3 separate regions of the Homo sapiens genome follow, and regions 2 and 3 are each linked to region 1. Evidence: promoter capture Hi-C in 16 types of primary human blood cells and fetal thymus (Javierre and others, 2016). All regions are on one chromosome and are shown on one strand. Each heading gives the region's core, a stretch centred on a gene start or on the middle of the fragment in contact. The rest is flanking DNA. Distances are from core to core; before and after follow the strand shown.

Region 1 (4,762 bases), core at 2,170-4,669:
TCCATCTGGATGTCTTCTTCCAGGAAGAATTCAGCTGCTCCATCAAGACAGGGCTGCTAAGTGATGAGACCCATGTCCCCAATCTGATCACATGCAGGCTGACATCACTGTCCATTTTCCAGATTGTTAGCCTCTCCAGTGTAGCAATATACACCATATTGGTTCCAGTGATAATATACAACCTCACACGGCTATGTCGGTGGGACAAACGACTTTTATCTGTCTATGAGATGCTCCCAGCTTTTGATCTCCTCAGCAGAAAGATGCTAGGATGTCCCATCAATGACCTCAATGTGATCCTTCTTTTCCTCCGAGCTAACATCTCTGAGCTCATCTCTTTTAGCTGGCTGAGTGTCTTATGTGTGTTGAAGGATACAACCACCCAGAAGCACAATATTGACACAGTAGTTGATTTTATGACTTTATTGGCTGGCTTAGAACCCTCAAAACCCAAACACCTCACCAACTCGGCATGTGATGAACACCCATAGTTAAGAAACCATGGAGCAAGAAAGCTTGTGGAAAGTCTCTCTCCTTCCTCATAAGACATGCACACTAATACACATACACACCAAAAAATTACACATTTTAAAACTGCTAAGCTTGGATTTAACTGAATCATATATCTTTTATCATGTTATCCTAAAAGTGAGAAGACATAACCAAGACATGGAAATAAATGTGAAAGCTGGAGCCGAAGAGTCAAAGAGCTAAAAAATTAAGTCTAGAACATTCTATGAGGATAGTATAAATAAAAAGAAATACAGTCTAGACATGCTGCAAGGAAAGAAGATTCTAAAGTCCGTTTATGGAGGCAATTCCATATCCTTTCTTGAACGCACATTCAGCTTACCCCAGAGAGCAAGTGAGGCAATCTGGCAAAAGATTAATAAAGATGTAAACCCCTGGAAACCCTTTGGTGTGGCCTGAAATCCTAGGAATTTACCCAGCTTGCTTTGTAGAAGTTATCAACCTTGTCCAAGTCCTCTGTAGCCTCCAAAGTGCTGGGAGATGATGGCTTCAATTTGTAATCTGCTCTTAGGATGTAAGGACATAGTAGAACAAGGCTGGGGCCATGTCTCAGCCGTGAGTGGAGCCTTCAGGTGCCCAGATACACTTTTCACCATCTAAACCAGGAACTCATTTCACCAGGGGCTGGGATTATGGGCTATGGACTTCTTCACAACTGTTAACGGAGCCAGGTATGCTTTTAATACTCCAGAGGATACTATGCCTTCCCTTACAGCTAATCACTGAATAGCAAGCACTTACAAATGGGTAGACAGTAAAGTGCTATTGAACTTCTTTCTCTTCTGATTTATTACCCTATTTTAGCTTCTAACTCCCATTCCTATGCCTGTAGTTAATGGAACTTTGGTCTGACTTCAAAGACCACACTCAGACACAATATCATGCTGTCTGCCATTTTATATTTCTTTTTAGAGCTACACATTATGCATTTCTTTAAAGAATTTTTGCATAGGCCATTTAGACCCTTCTTCGTATAGTTAAGTAGAAAAGTTGTGTTGCTTCTGACAGATTCAGGTAAGTTTACCTAACACAAGCAAAGAGCTGATAGATGGTTTCCTATTGTCACTGGGTCAAAGTCCAACTCTTCAGTTGGTACACAAGACTTTTCATGACCCAAAAAACCCTACTTACTGCTTCAGTCTCTCTTCTTGCTTCTCTCTACACACATCTTTCACACTGATCAACTACTTGCAGTTCCCATACTGAGCCTTTGCATATGCTGTCTCCACCATCCAGCATGCCCCCCTTTGTTCTTCACTGGGCCAACCAACCACTACCTCTCCTTCAGAGTCTGCCCAGATGTATCTCCTTTAAGAAACCTTTCCTATCTCCTCCCTCCTTCCCTGAGTGCTGCCAAATAAAATAAAACCTACCTCTGAAACAAACTTATTATACCATATTAACATTGCCAATTTACTTGTCTGTCTTTCCTTCTTAAATTAAGGTTCTTAAAGGTGGTATCATAATAGGCACTAGGTAAATATTCTTCTAAACAAATAAGGACTGAATGAGTTGCTCAGTGGCATGACCTTTGTGGAGCACACATATCCAGCCTCTGAACAGTCCTATATGGAAAAAGCTTTGGACGCAAAGATATGCTTTTAATGGAATTGACCAAAAAGTCAAAGAACATGGAAATAATTATGCAAAATATAATATAGCCATAACTGGAATATTAACCAGCCACTTAAAATTATGCTTATAAGGAAGCTATACTAACATTTGTGAAACTGAAATGATACAATGGTAAATGAACAAAAAGAAAACTTTATTTTCAGTATTGTCTAACCTATACAAAAATGCATAAAATATTAGACACATATACTAACATGGTAAAAGTAGTTCATTCCAAGTGGTAGCATTATGGATTTTTAAACCTTTCTTGTACTATATTTTCTAAATTTCTAAAGTTCGAATGAAATGTTTTGTAAGTGTAAGGAAATGTGTCCAATGAAGAAGAAACAAAAAATATCTTCATGCAAATCCCACTAAAGTCCATTGGCCAAAACAGCCTGCAAACTAGGACAAAGGATAGCACTTTTCTTCCCCCTAGATGTGATACATGTATATGAAAATAAATAATACAAATAAAGTCAGACCCCAAAGCCCGCAAGGACAAAATACAGCAGAACAGCAAATTTTTTTTTTGAGAGAAAAAACTAGAGAGTTACTGAACTAGTTATTGGCATCGCTGGAAGAAGATGCAAGCAAGCCTTCTGCCATCCAGCCTGGGTCACTTACCAATACCGCACCCTAAAGATTTTTCTATCTTCCCTAATTTTAAATAGACCTTGGTTGTAAAGTTAGAACCATATACATGTACATATTATGTACAGAAATACACTTCTGGTTTCACTAGACAAACATTTACTGAGTGCCTACTTAGTGCTAGTATTAAAACTGCGTGTTAAATCTCTCATCTTCCCTACTAGAAAGAGCCAAGGCCTTTCTTCCTGTTCACTACTGTGTTCCCAGCTCCTGGGAAGATGATAGCATTAGGAGGCCCTGCAAACACATTTCTGTGAGCTGCAGAAAGGAACGAAGCAGGGAAAGAAGCAGAGTCCCAGCACTTGGGCTCACTTTGTCCTACAGTCTGGGAAAGCCTGTCTGCACGAAGCATGAAAAACGTATTAAAACGCAGTGGCCCAGCGGGGGAGCGTGAATGAGAGCTCGCATTGGTAAGCTTCTTGTTAGTTCGTTGGTTCAACTATAGTACCCTTCAGCTAAGCACACGGCCGCCGGCCCTCCCTCCTCTCCTCATCCAGCACTAGCCCCCAGCTGTCTCTTTCCTCCCGGTGCCCACGATCGCACCGCCCAGACCACCCTACTCTCCCTGCCCCGGAAGTTACACACTGCCGACACCGGGACGTAACTTCCGGGAAGGGCTTACTTCCAAGACAGACACGGAAGTGCTGGGAGGCGCCGGGAGCCCGTTCGGTTGCGGGTGTCTCTGGCCCTGCGGTCAGCCCTGGGAACGTCCCGGAGAGCTAGATTCCTAGAGGCCCGATTCCGCTAGCCCGGAACAGACAAAGCCAGCGCTCCCGCCCGCTCCCCGACTTAGGATCCGATGCCGGCAGCGTCCTGGGGCCCCCGTAGCGGGGCTGGACCATGAGCCTGCTGGACGGCCTCGCTTCCTCGCCGCGGGCTCCGCTGCAGTCCAGCAAGGCCAGGATGAAAAAGCTCCCGAAGAAGAGCCAGAATGAGAAGTACCGGCTGAAGTACCTGCGGCTGCGCAAAGCGGCCAAGGCCACGGTGTTTGTGAGTCTGACCCACGTTCAGCCGGTCCCCTCCTGGAGACTCCCTCACAAAATCTTTCCCCAAGCTGTTCCCCCTTCCCAGTGTGACAGTATTAATACAGTGTTGGCTTTTCCGTATACGTTACTACTTGTTAGCCTTGTGTCCTTGGACAAATTACGTAATTTCTCTGTGTCCTCATCTGTAAATGAGCTAGTAACTGTCTTGCAGAATAATGAATATTAAATGAGTAAAGAAAAGTGCTTGGTGCGTAAAAGACATACCAATAAATTTTAGTCATCGTTGTTACTGCAGGACTCTAGGAAATGTGTTTGATTCTCGAGATACAGCCCTGAGAATTAGGCATTATTTGTAAAATGAGAACACTGAAGCCCAGAGAGATGATTTGCCCAAGGGTACTGTGTCAGAGCCCTGACTCCAACTTAGATAAACCTGATTCCGTTTTATGACTTCCAGTACACAGACTATTTTCTGAGCACCTCAAATCCCCATAACTGACCCTTTGCCCAAAGAGGTACATGAAACTGTCAGTAATTTCCCCCCTCTAACCTTTGAGTGTTCCAAGTGTTTCTTCCTTTCTTTTATTGTAGAAGCACTGGATTTATTGAGTGAATAAACTTAATATAGCTTGCCAGCCATAACTTTATATTAGAATAGTTTGGCTTGCCTCAGTGCTTGGAAATAGGGGTGGAGTCCTCAAATGTCCCCCCACATCCAAGTCAACAGTTCATCTCTTCTCTCTACCAAAAGCTTGAACGTCTCTCAGCATTTTTGGAAGCATAAGGAAAGGTTCAGAAATTAGAATACACATTCCAAAAGCACTTATTCAGCACTTGCTATGTGTATTGCTTGCTATTTGCACTGGAGAGAAACAAGAAAAGTAAAACTAAGAGAACTTAGCATCTGATTGACTGTTCCCTTTCTTTTATCCCCTATACGTCAAAGGTACCTAAAGCTTGGAATTTATGTTATTTCA
Region 2 (4,463 bases), core at 664-3,163, 300 kb after region 1:
GTGCTTTTCCCCTTTACTCTCCTCTTTCCACCCGTCGTGGACAGCCTGGGACAGTTAGTTGTGGAATACTGGGGAAATCACCAGAACTGGTGTCCAAAGACCTAGGTTTGAAACCTAGATCTGCCACTCATTGACTTGTTTAATCCTGAGCAAGTCATTTAATCTCACAGCCTTGTTTTTTCTAATCTCTAAAATGTGCATGACACAAATATTTCACAGGGTTATTCTGAGTACTATAAAGCAGGGGTCCCCACCCCCAGGCCGAGGACTGGTACTGGTCCATAGCCTGTTAGGAAGGGAGCGGCAGAGCAGGAGGTGAGCGGTAGGCCAGAGAGCAAAGCTTCATATGTATTTACAGACATGCCCCATGGCTTGCATTATCGCCTGAGCTCCGCCTCCTGTCAGATTCGTGGCTGCATTCGATTCTCGATTCTCGTAGGAGCACACACCCTATTGTGAATTGAGCATGCGAGGGATCTAGGTTGCACGCTCTTTAAGAGAATCCAATGCCTGATGATCTGAAGTGGAACAGTTTCATCCTGAAACCACCCGCATCACCATCCATGGAAAAATTTTCTTCCTTGAAACCAGTCCCTGGTGCCAAAACCGTTGGGGACTGCTGCTATAAAGGGATAGGAATATAGTATGGCTCCCTAGCATCAGGCATGTGGGAGGGGATCACTGCATGTTTCTGGGCACCCAGTCCAGAGCCGCTCACCTTGTCCTTCAGGATATAGAGTGCCATGGGGTTCTTCCGTTCCTGCTCACCACTTCGAGGGAGGGTGTCTGCTGCACAGGGGAGAGAAGCGGGTGGCTGGCCCAGGTACAGACTCTCCCCACCAGCCGGCACCTACTCTCTGTGCTTCCCGAATGGCCCGCCACAACCTCCACCAACATATCTGAATATCCTGGCTCCTACCTTGGCCAAACCTTTCCCTCCTCTGCAGTCTTCGTGCAGTTGGTGGGGGAAGGGTCCCTGCAGAGCTGTTTTCCTTGTCGCCCAGTTCTGCCTTTTCCCAGCAGCCCACTGATCTGATTGTTGATGGGATGGGTGATTGGGTGGCTGGGAGCTCACCTTCTGGTTTCAGGCGGTCATCATTCTGATCCATGTATTCCAGGGAGTTTTGCTTTTCTAGCTTCTTCTGTTTCCTGTGAATCAATTCAGCCCCACTATGAGCCGAATTATTGAATGTGAGTAGAAGATCCAGTGGGGACACAGGGAGGGATCTGATGGCCATAAAAGAGGCCTTGTGACAGGAAGATGGGCTGGGTACAGTTCATGAGCTTTGGAAGGAATCACATCTAGGTTTGCACCTTGAGTCTGTCACTAGCGTTGTGACTGTGGGCAAGTCATTTAACCAATCCGAGTCTCAGTGTCATTATCTGTAAACTACAGATAATCATACTTAAAAGGTAGCAGGCTAACCACAGCCACAGTGCCTGGTCCCAAAAAAGGTGGTTGGCCAGTGAAAAAACCTATTGTTACTGGTGCTGGGGTTGTGGGGGCTTTGGAGCACAAGATGCTGGTGCATACACAATGGAAGAATGGATCTCTCGGAAAGAGATGCAAAACCCTGGGAGGAAAGGCATTTAAAGAGACTTAAGAAAATAATGGGGCTTAGGTTTGGGATGGATTGAAGGACTCAGGTGCTCAGGAGAGTTACCCAGACCTTTTGGAGGGTTTCCAGCAGGCACAGACTGTCACCAAGGTCACAAGGAGGAAGATGCCTCCTGTAGACAAGATGATGTAAAGGGAGCTTCTTCCTAGGGAGAGAGAGAAGCAGAGAGGCAGGAGGGACTTCAAAGGGGCAAGATGTGGTGAGCAGAACTTCCTGCCATGGATGGAAGAGAGGGGGAGCCCCAGGCTGCATGCCTGGCTGATGCTGGTGGTGGAGCTTGTACAGAACCCACTGGCTACCTGTTGGTGTCCTCCATGGATAGTTGGCCCATCTCTGTTCCCCTCCCCCCAGTGACATTTCTTTGGGATGTCCTCAGTCCCTCATGGTCACCTGCCTCTTGGGGCTTTGAGTACTAAAGGAAAGCCTGCGGGGAAACTCACTGTATACGGTGATCTTGACAGGCAGGCTGCGGCCCTGGCTGATGGGGTTCTCCACCATGCAGCTGTACAGGTCGTCATCCTCCATGAGCACGCGGGTGATGGTGAGCACCTTTTGGTCGGGGGACAGGAGCATTCTCGAGTCATTGAGGAGGGGCTTGCCATCCTTCAGCCAGGTGTAGCTGGGCTTGGTGCCATTCTCATGTGAGCAGTTCAAGGTGAAGGCCTCGCTGAGCTCCAGCACAGTGGTTGAAGCCACCAACACCTGTGGCCTCGAAATGGGCACTGAGCCGCAGGAATGGGGGAGCCTGTAAGTCATTGGCTAAGAAGTGTCTCCCTTCCCCTTTTTAGCTCCCTGCCTTCCAACACACCTTTAACACTACCTTCCAACTCAATCTGTGGGCTGAGAAGACTTCAGACATCCTAAGTCCAGTTCTTTCCCATCGCTTATTCATTCGTTTCACTGACTATTTATGGAGCACCAATTAGGCATGGCGGGTACAATGCTGAACAATGCAGACATGGTGTTGCCCTCATTCCCTCTTTCCAAATGCCTTGCCATGAACCCTGGGCTTTAATGTCTTAAACTGACCCAGCCAGGAAGATATTTCAGTTGGGCTAAGCCTAGGTCCAACTGTTTAGGTTCAAATCTTGGCTCTATCACTTCTAGCTGTGTGACCTTGGGCAAGTTATTCAACCTTTCAGTGGCTCACTTTCCTCATCTGCAAAATTAGGATAATGATATGAACTATCACCAGACTATTATAAGCATTAAATGAGTCAACATATGCAAAGCACTTAGAATAGTTTCTGGCACATGGCAATCACTCTACATGTTAGCTGTGCTGTGCCTGTCTGCCAACTTCTAATGTCCACTTGCCTCATTCTCAGCTCCCAAGTGCCTTTTGGGTTGGTTTTCCCTCAGTCTAGCTGGTGCGCTGGGCAGACCTTTCCCTAGTCCCACCTGCCAGTCTTGCCTCTTTCCCTGCCAGAGCGCTTTACCATCTACAGTAAGGTTGATGGTCTTCTCCCCAGTGAAGGTGTCGTCGGTGATGGAGATCTCGACCTCATAGGTGCCCTCATCGGCCAGCTGCAGGTCGCTGAGAAGCAGGGAGCCATTTTCAAAGAGTCGGATACGGTCTCGATAGTCAGGCCGCAGGGTGCCGATGACCTCTGTGCCAATGGACTGCACCACGGTCACTGGCTTGTCCCGCTTCAGCTGCCACTTCACTACAGGCCTGTCGCTGCTGGTACTGCTGTACTGCACAGAAAGCAGAGCCGACTTCCCCACGGTGCCATGGATCAGGCGCACGGGGCTGGTGATGTTCACCCCCTCCAGGGGGTCTGTGAACAGAGGCCCATGAGGAAGAGGGAAGCATCAGGCCCTGGGCTCCTTAGCCCACTCCCAACTTTAAGCCCTCTGATCTCCCAAAGCTTCGCCTCTCTGGCTCTTCACTCCCTGCCAATCCTGGCTTCTTAAGCCTGGGTGCTATCTCCTCCCCCACAGTAGCTCTGTGCACTTCTGCCCCTTTGTTCTCTCTCACAGCCATCTCATGGCCTTCAATGCTTTTTCCACCTAGCCCTCTGCCTCTCTGGCACTTTGTCTATTGCCTTTCTCTTGTGGCTCACCCACACCCTATGCGCTCCATTCATAAAAATATTTATTGAACATCTCCTATCTGCCAGACACTTTTCTATGTCTTTAGGATATAGCAATGAGCAAAGCCAACAAAAATCCCTACCCCTATGAAGCTTATAGGTCATTAGACCTCTGGGTGAATTTGTCAGATCTTCTTGATTGGGGATTGGGAGGGTGAGGAGATGGAGAAAGCATGGAACACAGATTCACAAAGAAAGGAGCGGGTCGTGAGACAGTGCCAGTAAAGGGAAAGTTTAGGGGCCTGAAGACCACTTTCTAGTTATACCGAGAGCCTCTTCCCGTTTTTTTTGCAGATGCATGTAGCATCTTACTAGGCTCACTCAGTGCAGAATAGTCCTGCAACTAGTAAGGTGGTTTTGGGAATTCACCCAAACTCCAGCCCAATCTGTACCCCTAGAAGAAGGATTTGCGATGGGTAGAACAAAGAGCTTAGAATCAGAAAAAGCTTTTTCATGCTGGGCTCTACCTCTTACTGGCTATGTGGATTTGGGTACTCATTCTTCTCATTTGTAAAATAAGGATAATAATAACAAGGCTGGGCGCGGTGGCTCACGCCTGTAATCGCAGCACTTTGGGAGGCCAAGATGGGCAGATCACCTGAGGTCAGGAGTTCGAGACCAGCCTGGCCAACATGGCAAAACCCCGTCTCTACTAAAAATAAAAAAAATTAGCCAGGCATTGTGGCATGTGTCTGTAATCCCAGCTACTCGGGAGGCTGAGACATGAGAATCGCTTGAACCCAGGAGG
Region 3 (4,221 bases), core at 184-2,683, 500 kb after region 1:
TGACCATTAGTGATTCCAATGTCCTTAGATTGTTACTGGTCACATCTCACTGCTTTTAAAGCTTTTGATTAACCAAAGCATCTAACTCTTCTGCACATTAGTTGCTGCCATGTCAAATCTCCACCATACTTGGTATGTGCAATTTATTTTTTAAATTTACATGTAGGCCTTTACACTTATTTAAATTTTACCTTGTCAGTTGGAGCCCAACATTTGAGGCAGTTAGACTCATCTTTAAAGTCTTATTTTTCTTTCCTATGATATCAGTATGTCTCATTTCACATCTGATAAAAATTCTTTGTATGTTTTAATCCAAGTCACTAATAAAAATGCTGCCTTGGATAGAACTTGGTAGCATTGGAGACCTCCTCCCAGTATGTGTTCAGGCAGCTTCAGTTTTCCTAATGACGCACTGTACAACATTATTCACAATGTTGAAGATTTATTAAACATTCTGTTGAAATCCTGAGAGATTTATTAAATATTCTGTTTAAATGAAGTTACATCATATTTGGTATTTCCTCTCATTCACATCAATAAACATATATTGGTTGGTCTCCTATCTTCTAGGTTCTTTGTTAGGTGTTGTGGAAACAAAAATGACCAAGATATTAGTTTTGTCTTAAAGAGATGACATCTAGCAGAGGCGACAGACATATAAACACCAGATCCAAATTAATACAGGTATAGTTAATGTATGTGTTACCTCTAATTTGCATTAAAGGGATAGATATAGATGATAGATAGAAATATACAATATAATAGATAATGTATCATCTCATATGTATTATATTATACAGTAGCAGTATAAACAAAGTATATTGAAAACCTAGAGAAAAAGGAGATTAATTCTTCATTGTGCAGAAAGAGAAAGGAGGGCTTCACACAAAAAAGTGACATTTGACTGAGCCTTGAAAATACAGAGTTTTTTTTAGGCCGGGCATGGTGGCTCATGACTGTAATCCCAGCACTTTGGGAGGCAGGTGGATCATTTGAGGTCAAGAGTTCAAGACCAGCCTGGCAAACATAGTGAAACCCTGTCTCTACTAAAAACACAAAACAATGAGCCAGGTATGGTGGCATGTGCCTATAATCCCAGCTACTCAGAGGCTGAAGTATGATAATCGCTTGAACCCAGGAGGCAGAGGTTGCAGTGAGCTGAGATCACACCACTGCACTCCAGCCTGGGTGACAGGATGAGACCCTGTCTCAAAAAAAAAAAAAAAAAGAAAGGGAAAGAAAAGAAAATACATAGGGTTTTTGTGAGATAAGTAGAGAATGGAGATAGGAAGAAATTCCAGAGTGGAGAAATAGGAGAAGCAAAGCATAGAAAAGTGAATGTCTTTGGCATGATTCAGAAATAGCAAATATTCTAGTGTGAGTTAAGGACCAGGTTCAGGGAAATGAGTGTCAAGAGCTGAAAAGTGTGTGAAGGGTCTTGAATGCTATGATAAGGAATTTTGGCTTTATTCTGTAGGTGAAGGGTTTAGCTAAGTCAGAAGTATTTAAGCAGGAGAGTAAATAACACAATCAGATTGATCAACTTCATAACTCTATTGCACAAGGAAATAAGTTCAATTTAGCAAAACTTATTCTTAATGAATCCACTTTGGTTCTAGCATGAATTGACCACTAAACATCTGATTAACGAGTACGTCAAACTTTTTGTGTGTGTTTTGCCCTGCTATTATGTTTTTCCTGACTTTCACTTTGACCTGTTGGCCTCTTGGCTTTATTTTTCCCTTAGGCATCTGGGTTCTGCATTCCCTTGATTTATTTGTCCACCCACAGCTTGCTCTGACCTTTATTATTTAACGTGTCCTCTGACTTTGGCTCACTTACTGGATTCTGAGCCACGGCAATTCCTTGACCTCAGTCCTGGATTTGCTTCTGCTTTGGAATTCCCACCTGATTTCAGTTGCCCAATTGTGCTGTGACCTCTGCATTCTGTCCTGCCTTGGATCTAACCTGGTCTCATCCTTTGTGTTGCTGTCTCTGCCTCAGTTCTTCTAGTCTAGCTCCCCAGCCCGCAAGTTATACACACTGTTTGCTCACCTGGGCTCCAGTACTGGCAATAAAATGTAACCTGTCCTTTCTAGAAGCTGTGGTGTGGTTGAAGAGATAGTGCTAACATGCAAGAAATTATAAATTCTAACTGATTGCCAAATTGGACGTGCTAACTGAAAGTGTTATACGAACTTAGAGAAAAGACTGAACTGGGAAATTCAAGACCCTTAGGAGTAATGTTCCTTTCTAGGCAACTTCCTTTCTGAAAGATTTTGCTATCTGGAGCACGGGCTTTTCTTTGGAAGGAGAAAGGGAAATGTAAGGCAGGACTTCCTCTGGACTTTCCTATCATTGGTTCCAAAGCTGCCTATCTTTGAGGAGCTACCTTGTCGGTGCCACCTAGTGGCTGCTGCCACCAGAAATCCTACCCGCCTCAAGGAGAGAGCAATTTAACGCCATTTCCAACTTAAGCACCATATCTACAGGGCGTGAAATTAGTTCCAGCAAGCAGCAAATTTGCTGCTAATAAAAATATTTAGCGATTCACTTGTCTTTAAATCAGCAGCAGAATATTCTTTTACTTGCATCAGTGCTTGTTTCTCCCAATTCTAATATTTGATAATCAAGCTAGACGTGTTTAGCTAAAGCTATGAAACAGCAAGTTCTTCAGTTCTGCAAAAATTTTTTAGTTTCCTGAGCAAGAATTTTTATTTCCTTTTTTCTCTTTGTCAGAAATAGGCCTGGGTGTTCCTTGGATCATAGAGATGGAGCACTTCCACTGATTTCAGAGTCTTAGAAATAAGCTTTCATTCTCTTCTGTCTGCCAACATTAGCTCCTGAGTCACTGCATGTGGATAATCTGGGATGTTACAGGAAGACATGATCTCTAGCTCATGTTTAGACACTTCCTTTTTTTTTTTTTTTTTTTTTGAGACAGGGTCTTGCACTGTCACCCAGGCTAGAGTGCAGTGGCGTGATCTCGGCTCACTGCAACCTCCGCCTCCCAGGTTCAAGCGATTCTCCTGCCTCAGCCTCCCAGGTAGCTGGGACTACAGGCATGTGCCACCACGCCAGGCTATAGACACTTCTTTACTCTGTCTCAGTGCCAAACTCATTTTAGTTCCTTTTCTGTGTCTTTTAGCCTCTACACCAGAGCAAGAGTTCTCTGAATCCCACAGAGATATTGTAGAATGCTAAAACTACTTTTTCATTAAAGTCGACGAGTATTTATTGGGCACTTTCCATGTGCATCCATTGTTCTAGGTCCTGTTTGGGGTCAGAAGTGTTCCAAGAAGCCCAGCATGACAGCCAGATGAGAAACTGACATGGCAGATGACACCTCTTCTCCAGGTTGCTGGAACAGTGGGTCAGATAGACTTCTATGTATTTTTCTTCTCCTTAAGGAGCTCATAGAAGGAACAAAGTGCATCGGACATTCTACCCTTCATCAGTTTATTAGTCTAAGGGTCTCTGTTTGAGCAGATCACTAGTTCCAAAGACCAAATAATCTTTCTTTCTTTTTTTTTTTTTGAGATTGATTCTCCCTCTGTCGCCCAGGCTGGAGTGCAATGGCACAATCTTGGCTCACTGCAACATTCCCCTCCCAGATTCAGGTGTTTCTCATGCCTCAGCCTCTGGAGTAGCTGGGATGACAGATGTGCACCACCACACCCAGCTAATTTTTCTATTTTTAGTAGCGAGGGGATTTTGCCATGTTGGCCAGGCTGTTATTGAACTCCTGGCCTCAAGCAATCCACTTGCCTCTGTCTCCCAAAGTGCTGGGATTACAGGCATGAGCCACCATGCCTGGCCCCCAATAATCTTAAAAAAGAGTATAGTGGCCCCATGGTAACTCTGTCTTCTGCCCCAGAACAGCCCTGGCTGGATTATCCTCCTGGTAGAAATCAATTTTGATCATCCTGGCAGGAAATCAGGATACAGGGCAGCTTCAGACAGGAGTACCACATCCTTCTCAGAAATCAACCAACATGAGATGCTGAGTGAAAGCTGGTCTCTTGGTTAAGAGACGGATGTAGGCAGGGCTGGTAACAAGTAGTTAGAATCAAAGACTCAAACTAAACCTGCTAGCTAACACCAGCTTCACTGATGGAGATACCAGAGCAGGTAGGTTGCAGAGAGGTAATGACATTTGACAATGGTCAAGAGACCAACATGGAGGTTCTCATTGGAGCCTCCAAAATGGAGGCTCTCTTG

The links. Contacts are between HindIII fragments. The CHiCAGO score rates a contact against its expected background, and 5 or more counts as called.
Region 2: a contact is called between a fragment that was not itself captured here and the fragment with the promoter of TBRG1 in region 1, in 1 of 17 cell types (naive CD4 T cells). The highest score is 5.1, in naive CD4 T cells.
Region 3: a fragment that was not itself captured here is called in contact with the fragment with the promoter of TBRG1 in region 1 in 1 of 17 cell types (naive CD4 T cells); the score reaches 5.5 in naive CD4 T cells.

The regions. Positions count from the first base shown.
Region 1 is chr11:124,619,445-124,624,206 of GRCh38, forward strand. TBRG1 (transforming growth factor beta regulator 1) reads left to right here and starts at 3,420. Exons shown (of 9, transcript NM_032811.3): 1 at 3,420-3,789. The coding sequence starts at 3,640. It overlaps LOC124902779 (a long non-coding RNA gene), which reads right to left and starts at 3,757. Exons shown (of 2, transcript XR_007062932.1): 1 at 1-3,757. It overlaps PANX3 (pannexin 3), which reads left to right. Exons shown (of 4, transcript NM_052959.3): 4 at 1-912. The coding sequence ends at 491. RefSeq lists an enhancer at 3,497-3,566. The HindIII fragment of the contact is 1,322 bases long and covers 3,213-4,534 here.
Region 2 is chr11:124,921,670-124,926,132 of GRCh38, forward strand. It overlaps HEPACAM (hepatic and glial cell adhesion molecule), which reads right to left. Exons shown (of 7, transcript NM_152722.5): 2 at 3,059-3,400; 3 at 2,060-2,341; 4 at 1,671-1,764; 5 at 1,076-1,149; 6 at 719-789. The region is part of intron 1 of LOC107984406 (a long non-coding RNA gene); the gene reads left to right. Among named protein-coding and RNA genes, the nearest start is that of HEPN1, 4.7 kb to the left of the region's middle. The HindIII fragment of the contact is 3,150 bases long and covers 339-3,488 here.
Region 3 is chr11:125,121,959-125,126,179 of GRCh38, forward strand. No RefSeq gene overlaps it. Among named protein-coding and RNA genes, the nearest start is that of TMEM218, 12 kb to the left of the region's middle. The HindIII fragment of the contact is 2,749 bases long and covers 60-2,808 here.